2 separate regions of the Homo sapiens genome follow, and region 2 is linked to region 1. The links are contacts of gene promoters, found by promoter capture Hi-C in blood cells and fetal thymus (Javierre and others, 2016). All regions are on one chromosome and are shown on one strand. The core of a region is centred on a gene start or on the middle of the fragment in contact, and the rest is flanking DNA. Distances in the headings are between cores, read along the strand shown.

Evidence for each region. The method cuts DNA at HindIII sites, captures the fragments that hold promoters and counts their contacts. A CHiCAGO score of 5 or more calls a contact.
Region 2: a fragment that was not itself captured here is called in contact with the fragment with the promoter of ZNF426 in region 1 in 1 of 17 cell types (erythroblasts); the score reaches 5.4 in erythroblasts.

What each region holds. Positions count from the first base shown.
Region 1 is chr19:9,536,877-9,544,149 of GRCh38, reverse strand. It overlaps ZNF426 (zinc finger protein 426), which reads left to right and starts at 5,505. Exons shown (of 8, transcript NM_024106.3): 1 at 5,505-5,575; 2 at 5,805-5,891. ZNF426-DT (ZNF426 divergent transcript) reads right to left here and starts at 5,484. Exons shown (of 2, transcript NR_134921.1): 1 at 5,152-5,484; 2 at 4,420-4,744. RefSeq lists enhancers at 3,284-4,483, 5,138-5,207, 5,408-5,457, 5,464-6,199. The HindIII fragment of the contact is 12,585 bases long and covers 3,141-7,273 here.
Region 2 is chr19:9,147,440-9,154,585 of GRCh38, reverse strand. The region is part of intron 1 of ZNF317 (zinc finger protein 317); the gene reads right to left. Among named protein-coding and RNA genes, the nearest start is that of ZNF317, 11 kb to the right of the region's middle. The HindIII fragment of the contact is 1,338 bases long and covers 2,159-3,496 here.

The sequences.
Region 1 (7,273 bases), core at 4,256-6,755:
ACATTGGCTGTGTGTAATGAAAAGGGTTGGGATGAGTTAGGGAGAGCTAGTGTGGGAGCAGCTTCCAGGGCTGTTTTTAAGGAATGGAAAGAGGAGTGGGGAAAGGATTTAGGATCTATGGGGCCAGCTAGGTTTCCTTGTGAGTTTATATAATGGTTTAGTCAGGATGGCAAAACCAGGTATCCAAAGGTGAAAGTACCCAAGCATGCCTAGGAAGGAAAGGAGTTGTTGTTTTGTAGAAGGCATTGGGGTTTGGGAGATTAGCCAGACATGATCAGCAGGGAAAGCACGTGTGTTTTTATGAAGAATTATGCCGAGATAGGTAACGGATGAAGAAGAAATTTGGGATTTTGAGGGGGATACGCGATATCCCTTTGAGAATAGATGTTGGAGGAGCCGGAGGGTGTCCTGTTGGGAAGATTTGTAGGAGGGGCTATAAAGTAGGAGGTCATCAAAATATTGAATAAGGTGAGAAGCAGATGGATGGAAAGAAAGTAAATCATGAGAAAGTGCTTGACTGAAGTAACGGGGGCTGTCCCTGAAGCCTTGCAGCAGTACAGCCCAGGTAAGTTGCTGAGACTGACGGGTGTCAGGGTCAGTCCAAGTTAAAGTGAAGAGAGGCTGGGATTAAGGGTGTAAAGGAATAGTAAAGAAAGCATCTTTGAGATCCAGAACAGAATAATGGGTTGAGGAGGGAGGTATTGAGGATAGGAGAGTATATGGGTTTGGCACCATGGGGTGGATAGGCAAGACAATTTGGTTGATAAGGCAAAGATCCTGGACCAGCCTGTAAGACTTGTCCAGTTTTTGGACAGGTAGGATAGGAGAGTTGTAAGGAGAGTTTGTAGGCTTTAAAAGGTCATGCTGTAACAGGGAAGTGATAACAGGCTTTAGTCCCCTCAAATCCTGTTGTGGGATGGGATATTGGCATTGAGCAGGGTAAGGGTGATTAGGTTTTACCCCCAAGGGATGATAAGGGGTGCATGATCAGTTGCTAAGGAGGGAGTAGAGGTATCCCATACTTGTGGATTAAGGTAGTGAGACACAAGGGGAGGAGGCAAAGGAGGCTTTGAACTGGGGAAAAGGGTGGCAATGAGGTGTGGCTATAGCCCAGGAATAGTGAGGGAAGCAGAGAATTTAGTTAAAATGTCTTGACCTAATAAGGGAGCTGGGCAGGTGGGGATAACTAAAAAGAGTGCATAAAAGAAAGTTGTTCAAGTTGGCACCAGAGTTGGGGATTTTTAAGAGGTTTAGAAGCCTGGCCATCAATACCCACGGCAGTTATGAAGGCAAGGGAAACAGGCCCTTGAAAAGAAGGTAATGTGGAGTGGGTAGCCTCTGTATTGATTAAGAAGGGGACAGACTTGCCCTCCACTGTAAGAGTTACCCAAAGCATCTGTGATAGTCCAGGAGGCTCCCGAGGTGATCGGGCAGTGTCAGTCTTCAGCTGCTAAGCCGAGAAGATCTGGGAAGGAGTCAGTCAGACAGCCTTGGGCCAGAGTTCCAGTGGCTCTGGTAGTGGCTGCCAGGTGAGTTGGACAGTCCGATTTCAAGTGGGGTCCCACAGATGGGACATGGCTTAGGAGGAATCCTGGGCTGCGGGCATTCCTTGGCCCAGTGGCCAGATTTCCAGCACTTAAAGCAAGAACCTGAGGGAGGAGGTCCTGGAGGAACACCTGGCCTCTGTGGTTTAGGCATTTTGAAGTTCTTATGTGCTGGAGATGTGGCTGGGGTTTATCTCACAGCAGAGGCAAGTAATTGCAACTCAGAAATACAACGCCACTTGGCTGCCTCTTCTCTATTATTGTACACCTTCAAGGTGAGGTTAATTAAGTCCTGTTGTGGGGGTTGAGGGTCAGAATCTAATTTTTGGAGCTTTTTCTAGTCTTGGGAGCAGATTGGGTAATAAAATGCATATTGAGAATAAAATGCATATTGAGAATAAGATGGCCTTCTGGCCTCTCTGGTTCTAGGGTGGTAAACTGTCTAAGGGTTGTTGCCAAACAGGCCATGAACTGGGCCGGGTTTTTATACTTGATGAAAAAGAGCCTAAATGCTAACTGACTTGGGAGAGGTTGGATGAAGAAAAAGGAGCATTAACCTCGACTATGCCTTCAGCTCCAGCCACTTCTCTAAGAGGATATTGTTGGGCAGGTGGGGGAGGGCTAGTCATGGAATGAAACTGTAAGCTGGACCGGGTGTGAGAAGGGGAGGTGATAGAAAGATCACAGGGTAGGGAGCAGAGGCTGAGGAAGAATTAGTGAGAGGTGACAGCGTGCTGGCAGTCCTCACAGCCCTCGCTCACTCTTGGCGCCTCCTCTGCCTGAGCTTCCACTTTGGCGGCACTTGAGGAGCCCTTCAGCCCACTGCTGCACTGTGGGAGCCCCTTTCTGGGCTGGCCAAGGCTGGAGCCAGCTCCCTCAGCTTGCAGGGAGGTGTGGAGGGAGAGGCGCGAGCGGGAACTGGGGCTGTGCATGGTGCTTGCGGGCCAGCTGGAGTTCCAGGTGGGCGTGGGCTTGGCGGCTGCACTCGAAGCAGCTGGCCGGCCCTGCTGGCCCCAGGCAATGAGGGGCTTAGCACCCAGGCCAGCAGCTGCACAGGGTGTACTGGGTCCCCTAGCAGTGCCAGCCCACTGGTGCTGCGCTTGATTTCTCGCCAGGCCTTAGCTGCCTTCCCACAGGGCAGGGCTCAAGACTGGCAGCCCGCCATGCCTGAGCCTCCCACCCCCTCCATGGGCTCCTGTGCAGCTCGAGCCTCCCTGATGAGAGCTCCCCCCTGCTCCATGGTGCCCAGTCCCATCAACCACCCAAGGGCTGAGGAGTGCGGGCACATGGCGCGGGACTGGCAGGCAGCTCCACCTGCAGCCCCAGTGCGGGATCCACTGGGTGAAGCCAGCTGGGCTCCTGAGTCTGGTGGGGATGTGGAGAACCTTTATGTCTAGCTCAGGGATTGTGGAAACACCAATTGGCACTCTGTATCTAGCTCAAGGTTTGTAAACACACCAATCAGCACCCTGTCAAAACAGACCACTCGGCTCTACCAATCAGCAGGATGTGGGTAGGGCCAGATAAGAGAATAAAAGCAGGCTACTGAGCCAGCAGTGGCAACCCCCTTGGGTCCCCTTCCACGCTGTGGAAGCTTTGTTCTTTTGCTCTTTGCAATAAATCTTGCTACTGCTTACTCTTTGGGTCCATGCTGCCTTTAAGAGCTGTAACACTCACCGCAAAGGTCTGTAGCTTCACTCCTGAGCCAGCGAGACCACAAACCCACCAGAAGGAAGAAACTCTGAACACATCCGAACATCAGAAGGAACAAACTCCAGACACGCCGCCTTTAAGAACTGTAACACTCACCGCGAGGGTCCACGGCTTCATTCTTGAAGTCAGTGAGACCAAGAACCCACCAATTCTGGATACGTTAGGACCTGGCTCAGCTTGGCGAGGAGCAGCCTGAGGGGGAGGGGAGAGGTCAGATGGGTCCATAGAAAAGGAGGATTCAAAGGACAAGAAAGAAACAAGAAAGATTTGGGATGAGTCACATTGGGAGCAAAGACTAGGGACGGACCAATGTGTAAAGAATGCCTGGATGTCAGGCATCTCAGACCATTTGCCCATTTTATGACAAAAATTATCTAGATCTTGTAGGATGGAGAAATCAAAAGTGCCATTTTCTGGCCATTTAGAACCATTGTCAAGTTTGTACTGGGGCCAAGTGGTGTTGCAGAAGAAAATAAGGTATTTAGGTTTTAGGTCAGGTGTGAGTTGAATAGGTTTTAAGTTCTTGAGAACACAGGCTAAGGGAGAAGAACAGGGAATGGAGGGCAGAAGATTGCCCATAGTGAAGGAGGTAAGTTTAAAGAGAAAGGTAGAGACATGGAGAAGGCAGTGGAGTGGGGTGGGGGTGAGCAGCCCTGGGCTGTAATGTGGGTAAGCAGCCAAAGCAGGCAGCCCTGCAATTGACTTGCCACCAAGGGAATGTGGGTGAATGATCAAGGCAGGCATCCCCACAGTGATCAGACACCAATGGAATGTAGGTGAATAATCAGGCAGGTATCCCTACAGTGATTAGCCACCAAGGAAAGACTGTCTTCCTGAGTCCGTGACTGGAGCTGGAGTTTTGGGTCCACAGATAAAATGTGTCTCCTTTGTCTCTACTGGAGAGGAAAAAGAACTGGAATTGGAAGGACAGAGAGATGGAAGGGTAGTGAGAGAGGCTGGAGAAGAGAGTGAAGAGACTGCTTACCCAATTTGAAATTGGTGAGATGTTCCTTGGGCTAGTCTGAGGACCCGAGGTAGTAGGTGGAGCTCCTCACGGAGTGAGGGTGAGGACGGGGCCAGTCTCCCAAGGGAGTCCCCCTGTCCCAGGTTTCGGAACCAAATGTTACACACATCCATGTGAAGAGACCACCAATAGGCTTTGTGTTAGCAACAAGGCTGTTTATTCACTTGGGTGCAAGTGGGCTGAGTCCGAGAAAGGGGTCAGCAAAGGGAGATAGGGGTGGGGCAGTTTTATAGGATTTGGGTAGGTAGTGGAAAGTTAAAGGTGGTTATCTTTTGCTGGCAGGGCCGGGGGTCACAAGGTGCTCGGTGGGGAACTCCTGAGACTCGTCCAGAAGAAGAATGTCACAAGGTCAAGAGATCAGTTGGGGTGGGGCAGCAACAAATCACAATGGTGGAACGTCATCAGTTAAGGCAGGAACTGGCTGTTTCACTTCTTTTGTGGTTCTTCAGTTGCTCCAGGCCATCTGGATGTATACGTGCAGGTGACAGGGTTTATGATGATTTAACTTGGGCTCAGAGGCCTGACAAGTAGTTCAAGACCAGCCTGGCCAGCATGGCAAAACCCTGCCTCTACTAAAAATACAAAAATTAGCAGGGTGTGGCAGCATGCACCTGTAATTCCAGCTACTTGGGAGGATGAGGCAGGAGAATCGCTTGAACCTGGGAGGTGGAGGTTGCAGTGAGCTGAGATGGCTCCACTGAACTCCAGCCTTGGTGACAGAGTGAGATTTTGTCTCAAAAAAAAAGAAAAGATGTTTTAAAGCAAGGCAGAAAACCTAGAAATTATTTTTAAAAACAATTCTTTTAGCTGCATAGAAAATGTTTTTTACATCAAATGTTGAAATAGTAACAGAGCAAAAGACGTAGTTACCTATTTTCTACATGCATAACACATTGGCTCCTTCCCCTATGGCCGCCCTGCTGCGGCCTCGCCCACAGGCCTGGCTATAACTTCAACCTTTTCCTCTGGGCCTGGACCCACATTCCTCCCCGCCCCCTGCCCGTAGCCCTGCCCACAGGCTTGGCTCTAACCTCGACCTTGCCTTCTGGACCCATTTCTGCCTGCAGCCCCCACGCTGAGCCCACCCCAAGGTCCTCCGCAGCCAAGCAGATGGAAAGTAGAATTTTTCTGCCTCGAGGAGGTATTACACGGCAGAAACCCTAGTCCCGAAACCCCGCCTGGCCCGAGGCGGAGAGCGTAAATGACGTCAGCGGTGCGCCGTTCCTTTTGTGACGCCGGCTGTGAGCGCCTGAGAGTCTTTTTGCCTTTCAGAGTTAAGGCCTCACTGGCCTGGGTGAGTTCCGAGGAGATGAACTGGTTTTGGGGTGAAGGACGGGTTTGGCCCGGACGTTAGAGAGGCCTGGCCCGCTCTGCTCGTGTCTGCTGGGCCCGCTAGCGTCCGCTCGGACCGTCGCTCCTCGGGAGGAGTCGGGTTTATAGTTACGGTGTCCGCAGGGTGTTTTCATCTGTGCGCCCCTCTCCAAAGGCCTCCAAAGCAGCGTTTGTGAATTTTTTTCCGGCAGGAAAATAATTGCTGCCTTTTGCATCCGCGTTGGCTCCGTCCCCAGGATCTTCCCGGTTCAGGGACCTGGCGATTTCTGAGTGTTCCGGTGAGCACTGGGTGAAAGTTGGTTCTAGGGGGCCTTTTCTGTCTTCTCTTATGCAAACGAATGTTTCATCTGTAAGTTTGGTTTCGTCTTATTGTGTTGTGTTTTATTTTTGACCATTACTTTCATGGCGAAAGATAAAGATGCTTTTTAGGTTTATAGGGTGTGCGTATTTGTGTATGTGAATATAAACGTTTGTAGACCGCAAGTCTTTCTGCTAAAGAATACTAAGAATAATAATTCATTATCTTCGAATGGAGTTCCTAGGCCTGTACATCCCAAGAGAGCTTCTTAATCAGACCTCCAGAGGGAAAGGATGAAGGCTTTATTATTCTAGTATCACAATAATCAAATTTACAATGAACAGGATGGTTGGATTAAGGAGTTTGAAACCAGCCTGGCTAAGATGGTGAAACCCCGTCTCTACTAAAAATAGAAAAAAAATTAGCCGAGCGTGGTGGTGGGGTCTTGGAATCTCAGCTATTTGGGAGACTAAGGCAGGAGAATCACTTGAACCCAGGAGGCGGACGTTGCAGTGAGCTGAGATCGTGCCACTGCACTCCAGCCTGGGAGACAGAGTGAGCCTCCGTCTCAAAAGAAAAAAAAGAGAAACGAAGGATGTGTGCATTTTAAGCTACATTGATTGTATATCAATGAAAAAAAAAAAAAGCTGGCTGGGTACAGTGGCTCACACCTGTGATCCCAGCACTTTGAGAGGCTGAGGCAGGAAGATCTCTTGAGCCCAGGAGTTTAAGACCAGCCTGGGCAACATAGCAAGACTCCATCTCTCCAAAAAAAAAAAAAAAAAAAGAGTTAAATATTCTATACAGATGCCACCAAACTGAATATTTGTGGGCCTAGTCAGCCCTAGGACCCCTAGTTTGAGACCCCTGGGAGTAGGTGTGATCTATACCAGGAGTCCAGAACTGTGGTTTTTGTGACTTTAGGGTTTTAGTCTTATTGGTAGAAGGAGGCCTATAGAGTTTTTGTGAATTTGGTTCATGGATAATGAACTGCGGAACTTTCACTGTTTATCATCATTTGACTCCCATTCTGTAGGTGATTGTTTGAGCCACTGTTTCATGTTTGATTAATTAATGATTGTCATTATTATTATTATTATTTTTTTTTTGAGACAGAGTCTTGCTCTGTCACCTAGGCTGGAGTGCAGTGGTGTGATCTCAGCTCCCTGCAACTTCCATTTCCCAGGATCAAGCGATTCTCCTGCCTCAGCCTCCTGAGTAGCTGGGATTACAGCCGCACACCACGCCCGGCTAATTTTTGTATTTTTAGTAGAGATGGAGTTTCACCGTGTTGGTTAGGCCGGTCTTGAACTCCTGACCTCATGATCTTCTGGCCTCAGGCTCCCAAAGTGCTGGGATTAC
Region 2 (7,146 bases), core at 1,578-4,077, 390 kb after region 1:
GAATGGAATACTACTCAGCAATAAAAAGAAACTATGCAGACACACTACATGGAGAAATCCCTACGATGCTGGCCAAAAGAAACTGGACACACAAGAAACGCTCTGATTCCAACAATATAATGTCCATGAATAGGCAAAACGTAATTAAGTTGATAGAATTGAAAAAAAAAAGGGGGTTTCTTCAATGGAGGATAAGACAGGGATAGACTGAAAGAAGCAAAGGGAACTTTCTAGGATGATAGAAACTTACCTATTTTCAGATGTACAGTGTACACAATTGTCAAAAATTCAAACTGATCACCTAAGTAAGACCTATGCATTTTCTTGAACATATATTAAACCCTGCTTAAAAGAAAGAAAAAAAATGAGGCTTTCTTACCTTCTTGCTTCTAGTTATTTAAACAGTCTTCTCACAACTGATCTATGACCTCCTCCTTTCCTTCTATGACAAAGAGATGTCTGCCCTCCCTTCTCAAGGCAATCCTTTCAAATCTGCTCCAGGCCCATCCCCGTCTCTGGACCCTCGCACTACCTGGCTCTCCTTTACTTTCAGCCTCATTTCTCGCCCTGCTAGACAATTTCCTATGCATGGACACATGCTCAGGTCTATCCCATCTTGAAACCAATGCCTGCCCTGGCTCCCCTTAGTGCCCCCTTCCGAGCAAAAACTTAGGAGCAGTCTACATTCACCATCTCCCAATTCAGTACACCCAGCATCCACTACCATCATCCCCATCCTCACAGAAAATACAATTTACTCCCGTGTCAGTGAATCCAGTAAATGCACTTCAGTCTTAGAGTCTCACGAAAATGTGGTGTCTATTTTCTTTGAGAATCATTCTCTATTCTCGGCTCCTCTACAACTGTCTCCTGGTTCTTTCCCTGCTTCTCTGGATCATCTGGACCATCCAGAGGTCCTCTTTCACCACTAAAGGCTGATTCTGCTCAAGAGCCATTCTTTACCCATTCCTTCGCATGCCTCATGCTTTGCCCAGGTAATCACATCCACTCATTTAACCTGAATCCCCATCTCTAACACTTAGGTTCCAGTAGGAACTCGAGATCTTATTCCCTTTGCCTAGGAAAAGCCACCAGTAAGACATCTCATACAAAAACCAGTTCCAGCCAGGTGCAGTGGCTCCCACCTGTAATCCCAGCACTTTGGGAGACCAAGGTGGGTGGATCACCTGAGGTCGAGAGTTCGAGACCAGCCTGACCAACATGGAGAAACCCCGTCTCTACTAAAAATACAAAGAATTAGCTGGGCATGGTGGTGCATGCCTGTAATCCCAGCTACTCGGGAGGCTGAGGCAGGAGAATCGCTTGAACCCGGGAGGCGGAGGTTGAGGTAAGCTGAGATCGTGCCATCACACTCTAGCCTGGGTGAGAGAGCGAGACTCAGTCTCAAACAAACAAACAAACAAACAAACAAACAAAAACAACTACCTTGACACACTAAACCTAGGGAAAGCAAAAGTGAAGAAATAAAGATTAAAGCAGAGACAAATGAAATAGAGAATAGGAGAATTAATGAAAACAAAAGTTGGTTCTTTCAAAAAGATCAACAAAGGTGACAAAACTACAGCTAGAATTACTAACAAAAAAAGATGCAAGTAACTAAAATCATCAGTGGAAGTGGGACATTACTACCGACCTTACGGAAATTCAAAGGGCTGTAAGAGAATGCCATGAACAATTATGCACCAACACATTAGATCATCTACACTAGCAGTCCCCACCCAATTTGGCATCAGAGACTGGTGTCATGGAAGACAATTTTTCCATGGATGGTGAGGTGAGGGGGGATGGTTTTGGGATGACTTGAGTGCATTACATTTATTGTGCACTTTATTTCTATTATTATTACATTGTAATATATGGTAAAATAATTATACAACTCACCATAATATAGAATTAGTGGAAGCCCTGAGAGTGTTTTCCTGAAACTAGATGGTCCCATCTGGAGGTGATGGGAGACACTGACAGATCATCAGGCATTAGATTTTCATAAGGAGTGTGCAATCTAGATCCCTTGCATGTGCAGTGCACAATAGGGTCTGCGCCCCTATGAGAATCTAATGCTGCTGATGATCTGACAGGAGGTGGAGTTCAGGGGTAATGTGAGTGATGGGGAGCCGCTGTAAATACAGATGAAGCTTCACTCACTTGCCCTCCGCTCACCTCCTGCGGCAGGGCCTTGTTCCTAAAAGGCCAGGGACCGGTACCTGTCTGTGGCCCAGGGCTTGGGGATCAATGCTCTAGATGTATCAAATTCCTTGAAACATACCCAAACAGGCTCTAGAAGAAAAAGAAAATTGAGAGACCTATAACAAGAGACTGAGGCAGTCATCAAAAGCCATTAAATAAAAAGTCCAGGACCAGCTGGGCACGGTGGCTCACGCCTGTAATCCCAGCATTTTGGGAGGCCGAGGCGGGTGGATCAGGAGGTCAGGAGATCGAGACCATCCTGGCTAACACGGTAAAACCCCATCTCTACTAAAAATACAAAAAATTAGCCAGGCGTGGTGATGAGTGCCTGTAGTCCCAGCTACTCGGGAGGCTGAGGCAGGAGAATGGTGTGAACCTGGGAGGCGGAGCTTGCAGTGAGCCGAGATTGCGCCACTGCACTCCAGCCTGGGCGACAGAGCAAGACTCCGTCTCAAAAAAAAAAAAAAAAAGTCCAGGACCAAGGGGCTTCACTGGTGAACCCTACCAAACATTTAGAATTAACATCAAGGACATTATCAAGAAAGTGAATGAGACACAGAATGGTGGAAAATATTTGCAAATCATGTATGTGATAGGGATTTAATATCATTATAAACTCAACAACAAAGACAACCCAGTAAAAAAGTGGGCAGGAGACTTGAACAGAACAGACATTTCTCCAAATTTACAGAAATGAACTGTAAACACATGAAAAGATGATTAACAACATCAGTCATTAAGGAAATAACATCAAAACCACAATACATTGGTGAGGTATGGTGGCCCACACCTCGGGAGGGGATTTAATTTGCTTTGTATGAACATGCCTCCTCTCTCTGGCTTCCACCGCGACTCTCATGACAGCACTGATGTAAGAACCGTGACGCTGCTACTTTAACATCTGACTCAGATCAATAATCAATATTACCACTTTTAAACATTACCAGGGTTATAACAATCTTTTTCAACATCAATTAGTATTTCTGCTATTGGAATTGTTTTAGATATTCAGAAACATTTCAAAACAATAATATAGGAAGTGTGTTTTAACGTATAAACTCTGCCTTGGGGATTCATTATTCAACACCAAATTTGATCTTGGGCCAACTCAAAGATGCATGACGCTTTCATTCTTTTTACAAAGCCCTTTTCTAGTCATTGTGCCTTTGGGTTCTGACATTAAGTCACTGCTGAGGAAGGGGAGAGAGGGTGACAGAGGCTCAGTTCCTGAGGCACAGTATCTCCATCCTCACCTACCATTCATTCATTCATGCTCAACTAACAAGCTTCTGCAGGTCCCATTCCACCTTTCCCCACCAACATTAATGCCAATTCTACAAATAACGACATGTGTAGTGTTTACAAGGTATGAGACATTCTCCTGAGTCTTTCCAGGGCCACTCCTATTTAATCCTCACAACCTCCCGGAATTATTCTCAAGTACCCAGAGAATAAGGCACCAAGGGTCCGAGACACTTGGTCAAGGTCATAGGTGGAAGTTGTGAGCCCAGCTGACGTGACTGCGGAGCCACATCTTGTTGCCTCTCAAAGTGACCTATGTCACCTGTACTGTCCCCTATGTGGGAACTCCTTGACACTACATCTTGACCCTTCCTTTGCCTGACCTCCTGACACATCATCTTGCTCACTATGAATCTATCTCCCTCTTCCTGGGAATGCCACTGCTCTTGCAGCCATAGCCCACTCATCCCAGTCTGTGCTCACATCTCTGGTTGCTCTTTTGAAGACTCTGGCTTGAGATCCCTCCTCTGCCCAGCCCCTAAAGGTCAGGGTTCCCCTGGGCCCCTCTCCCCCATCTCCCACAGGTCCACATTGTGAAACACCCCCACCATTTGGAGGTGCTGACACCCAGGTTCTGATTGCACTTCTGTGAAGGTCTCCCTGTCCCTGAGGCCTCAGTAGACTCCCCTTTAATGCAAGCCCACAGTTCTGCTCATTCCCCTCCCAAGAGTCAGTTCATCAAAACTCAGTTTTCTCATCTGGAAACTGAAGACTTTAACACTGGGTTATGTATGGAACTCTATAGGCTCAGTAAACAAACATTCACTCTAAAATGCCATTATCATTAAAATAAAATGACCACTGACGATTTCACAATTACTTAACAGAATTGTTCATTTATAGTGGGTGCCACTCTCCGCTCCCTGGCACCTGCCCCACCCAGAATGACTCAGAGTGAGTGGCAGCCAGGTGGCTACTTAGTATCCCTACTGCAACAGCCAACAGGATCCCACATTAAACACCTACAACTGTGCTGCCACCAGCCTCCCCACGTTGATGGCAGCTCCAGCCTCCCAGGGGCTCAAGTCAAAAGCCTTGCTCGTCATCACCTTCAACTCTCCTCTTTCTTTTCCATAAACCACACCTGCATCACCAGCAAATCCTGCCAGCCTTAACTTTAAAACTTAATACAAAAATCTGGTTGCTTCTCACCACCTACACTGCTACTGCCTTGGCATAAGGCATCGCTTCTCTTCTAGAACATTCCAACTGCTTCCTAACTGGTCTCCCAGCTGCTGTCCCTGACTTCCCTTAGCTTCCATGACAGCCGTAACTTTATGGGTAAAATGAAGATCACACCGCTCCTCTGTTCAAGATCCTCTGATGGTGTCCCATCTCACTCAGACCAAGGGCCCAGGTCCCTGCCGCCTCACCCACAACTCGCTCTGCCACTGGTCCCTCACCCAAGCCACAGAAGCCTCACTGCTGTGCATCAGGCCCCGCCAGCCATGCTCCCACCTCAGGGTCTGTGCACCTGCTGCTCCTCTGCTTGAAATGTTTCCCCCACATTCTCAGTGTGCCTGGCCCCCTCTCATCCTTCAGATCTTTATTCAACTTTACCTGTCCTGATCTGGCATTCACTGGCCACTCTTTTCTTTTCTTTTGAGATGGAGTCTCGCTCTGTCACCCAGGCTGGAGTGCAGTAGTGTGATCTCAGCTCACTGCAACCTGCGCCTCCCGGGTTCAAGTGATTCTCCCGCCTCAGGCTCCCAAGTAGCTGGGACTATAGGTGTGCCACTGTGTCCGGCTAATTTTTGTACTTTTAGTAGAGACAGGGTTTCACCATGTTGGCCAGGCTGGTCCTGAGCTCCTGACCTCAGCTGATCCACCCGCCTTGGCCACTTTTTAAAATGCAAACCCCTGCTTCTTTCAATCCCAATTCTCCACTCCTTTTCTTTTTCCCTAAAGCACTAATTTCCAAGTAATGTTCTGTGTAAGATTAGGCTCTATTTTTTACTGCAAAAACAGACAAACCCAAATCTCAATGACTCAATAAAATGGAAAGTTTACGCCTTGCTCATGTCACTTGTTCAACCCAGGCTGATGTCAAAAGTTTTCCTGTTGTTCAAGGATGCCACTTGTCTCTGAACCAACTGATACCCTTGGCCATGTTGGTCATAGATGATGAGCAGGAAGCTGGACAACTATGCATTCTGTCGTCTATATTTTGACCCTGAAGCACTTGCAGCCCATTGGCCAGAACTAGTCACATGCCCCTGCCAGCTCCAAGGATCCTGGGAAATGTAGGACAGGACACAGAACACCGGGTAAGCATTATTATCTCTCTGCTGTCTCCTCCATGCACACTATGTAGTTTACTTGTTTTGATTTCCTGTATGCCCAACTAGAAAATACATTCCAGGTGAGTAGAGACTTTTTACTTTGATGATATTTCATTCACCATTCCAGTGCCTGATATAAATAAGACAATAAGTAGGGAATGAAAGAATGAATGGATGATGAGCAAGCTGATCTACATTTGCCTTCATACTGAGACAGCCACCCAGACCTTGGGAGACCATAAAGGAGGGGCCTATGGAATGTAGGGGGTCTGGGATCTCCTCAGAAGGTCCTGTGAAATTAAACAGTAATCCAGGTACTAGGACACAGCCCTATGGCTTAGCCCAACACCCTGGGGCCAACATCCACCACCACCCTCCATGAAGGACAAAGTGTCCAGAGGGCTGGAGCTTAGAGAGCGCACCCACATCAATTCAGTCTGTGGAACCTTGTCGATGTTTTGCAACGATGCAAACCAGAGCTCAGAGTGGAGCTTCTGGCCAAGTTCTCACCTGAGTGATTCTATCACTTTCAGGGGTTGTCAGTGCTGGGTGATGGTGTATTAGTCCATTCTCGCACTGCTATAAAGAAATACCTGAGACTGGGTAATTTATAAGAAAAGAGGTTTAATTGGCTCACAGTTCTGTAGGCTCTACAGGAAGCACAGTGCTATCTGCTTCTGGGGAGGCCTCAGGAAGCTTCCAATCATAGCAGAAGGCAAAAGGGAAGCAGGCAAAGCATATGGTGAAGCAGGAGCAAGACAGCAGGGTTGGGAGGAGGTGCCACACACGTGTAAATGACCGGATCTCAGGAGAACTCACCCGCCATCACGAGGACAGTGCCAAGGGGGATGGTGCTAAGCCATTCATGAGAAATCTGCCCCCCTGATCCAATCGCCCCCCACCAGGCCCCACCTCCAATATTGGGAATTACATTTCCATATGAGATTTGGAGGGGGGGAGGGGGCGGATACACATCCAAACTGTATCAGAGAGTCTCAAAGAACTGGTGGCCATGAATACAAATAAAGCAGGAAGATTTCAGCATCTAAGCGACCCCAGCAGGATGTGGAGCAGGGTGTCTAGAACAGCTGTAGGATCTATGAACTCAGAGACGTTCTGCCCCGTTTCTACATGATACATGAAACAAAACCAGGATCAGCCGGGCGTGGTGGCTCACGCCTGTAATCCCAGCACTTTGGGAGGCTGAGGCAGGCGGATCATGAGGTCAGGAGATTGAGACCATCCTGTGAATGGTGAAACCCCATCTCTACTAAAAATACAAAAAATTAGCCGGGCGCGGTGGCGGGCGCCTGTAGTCCCAGCTACTCAGGAGGCTGAGGCAGGAGAATGGTGT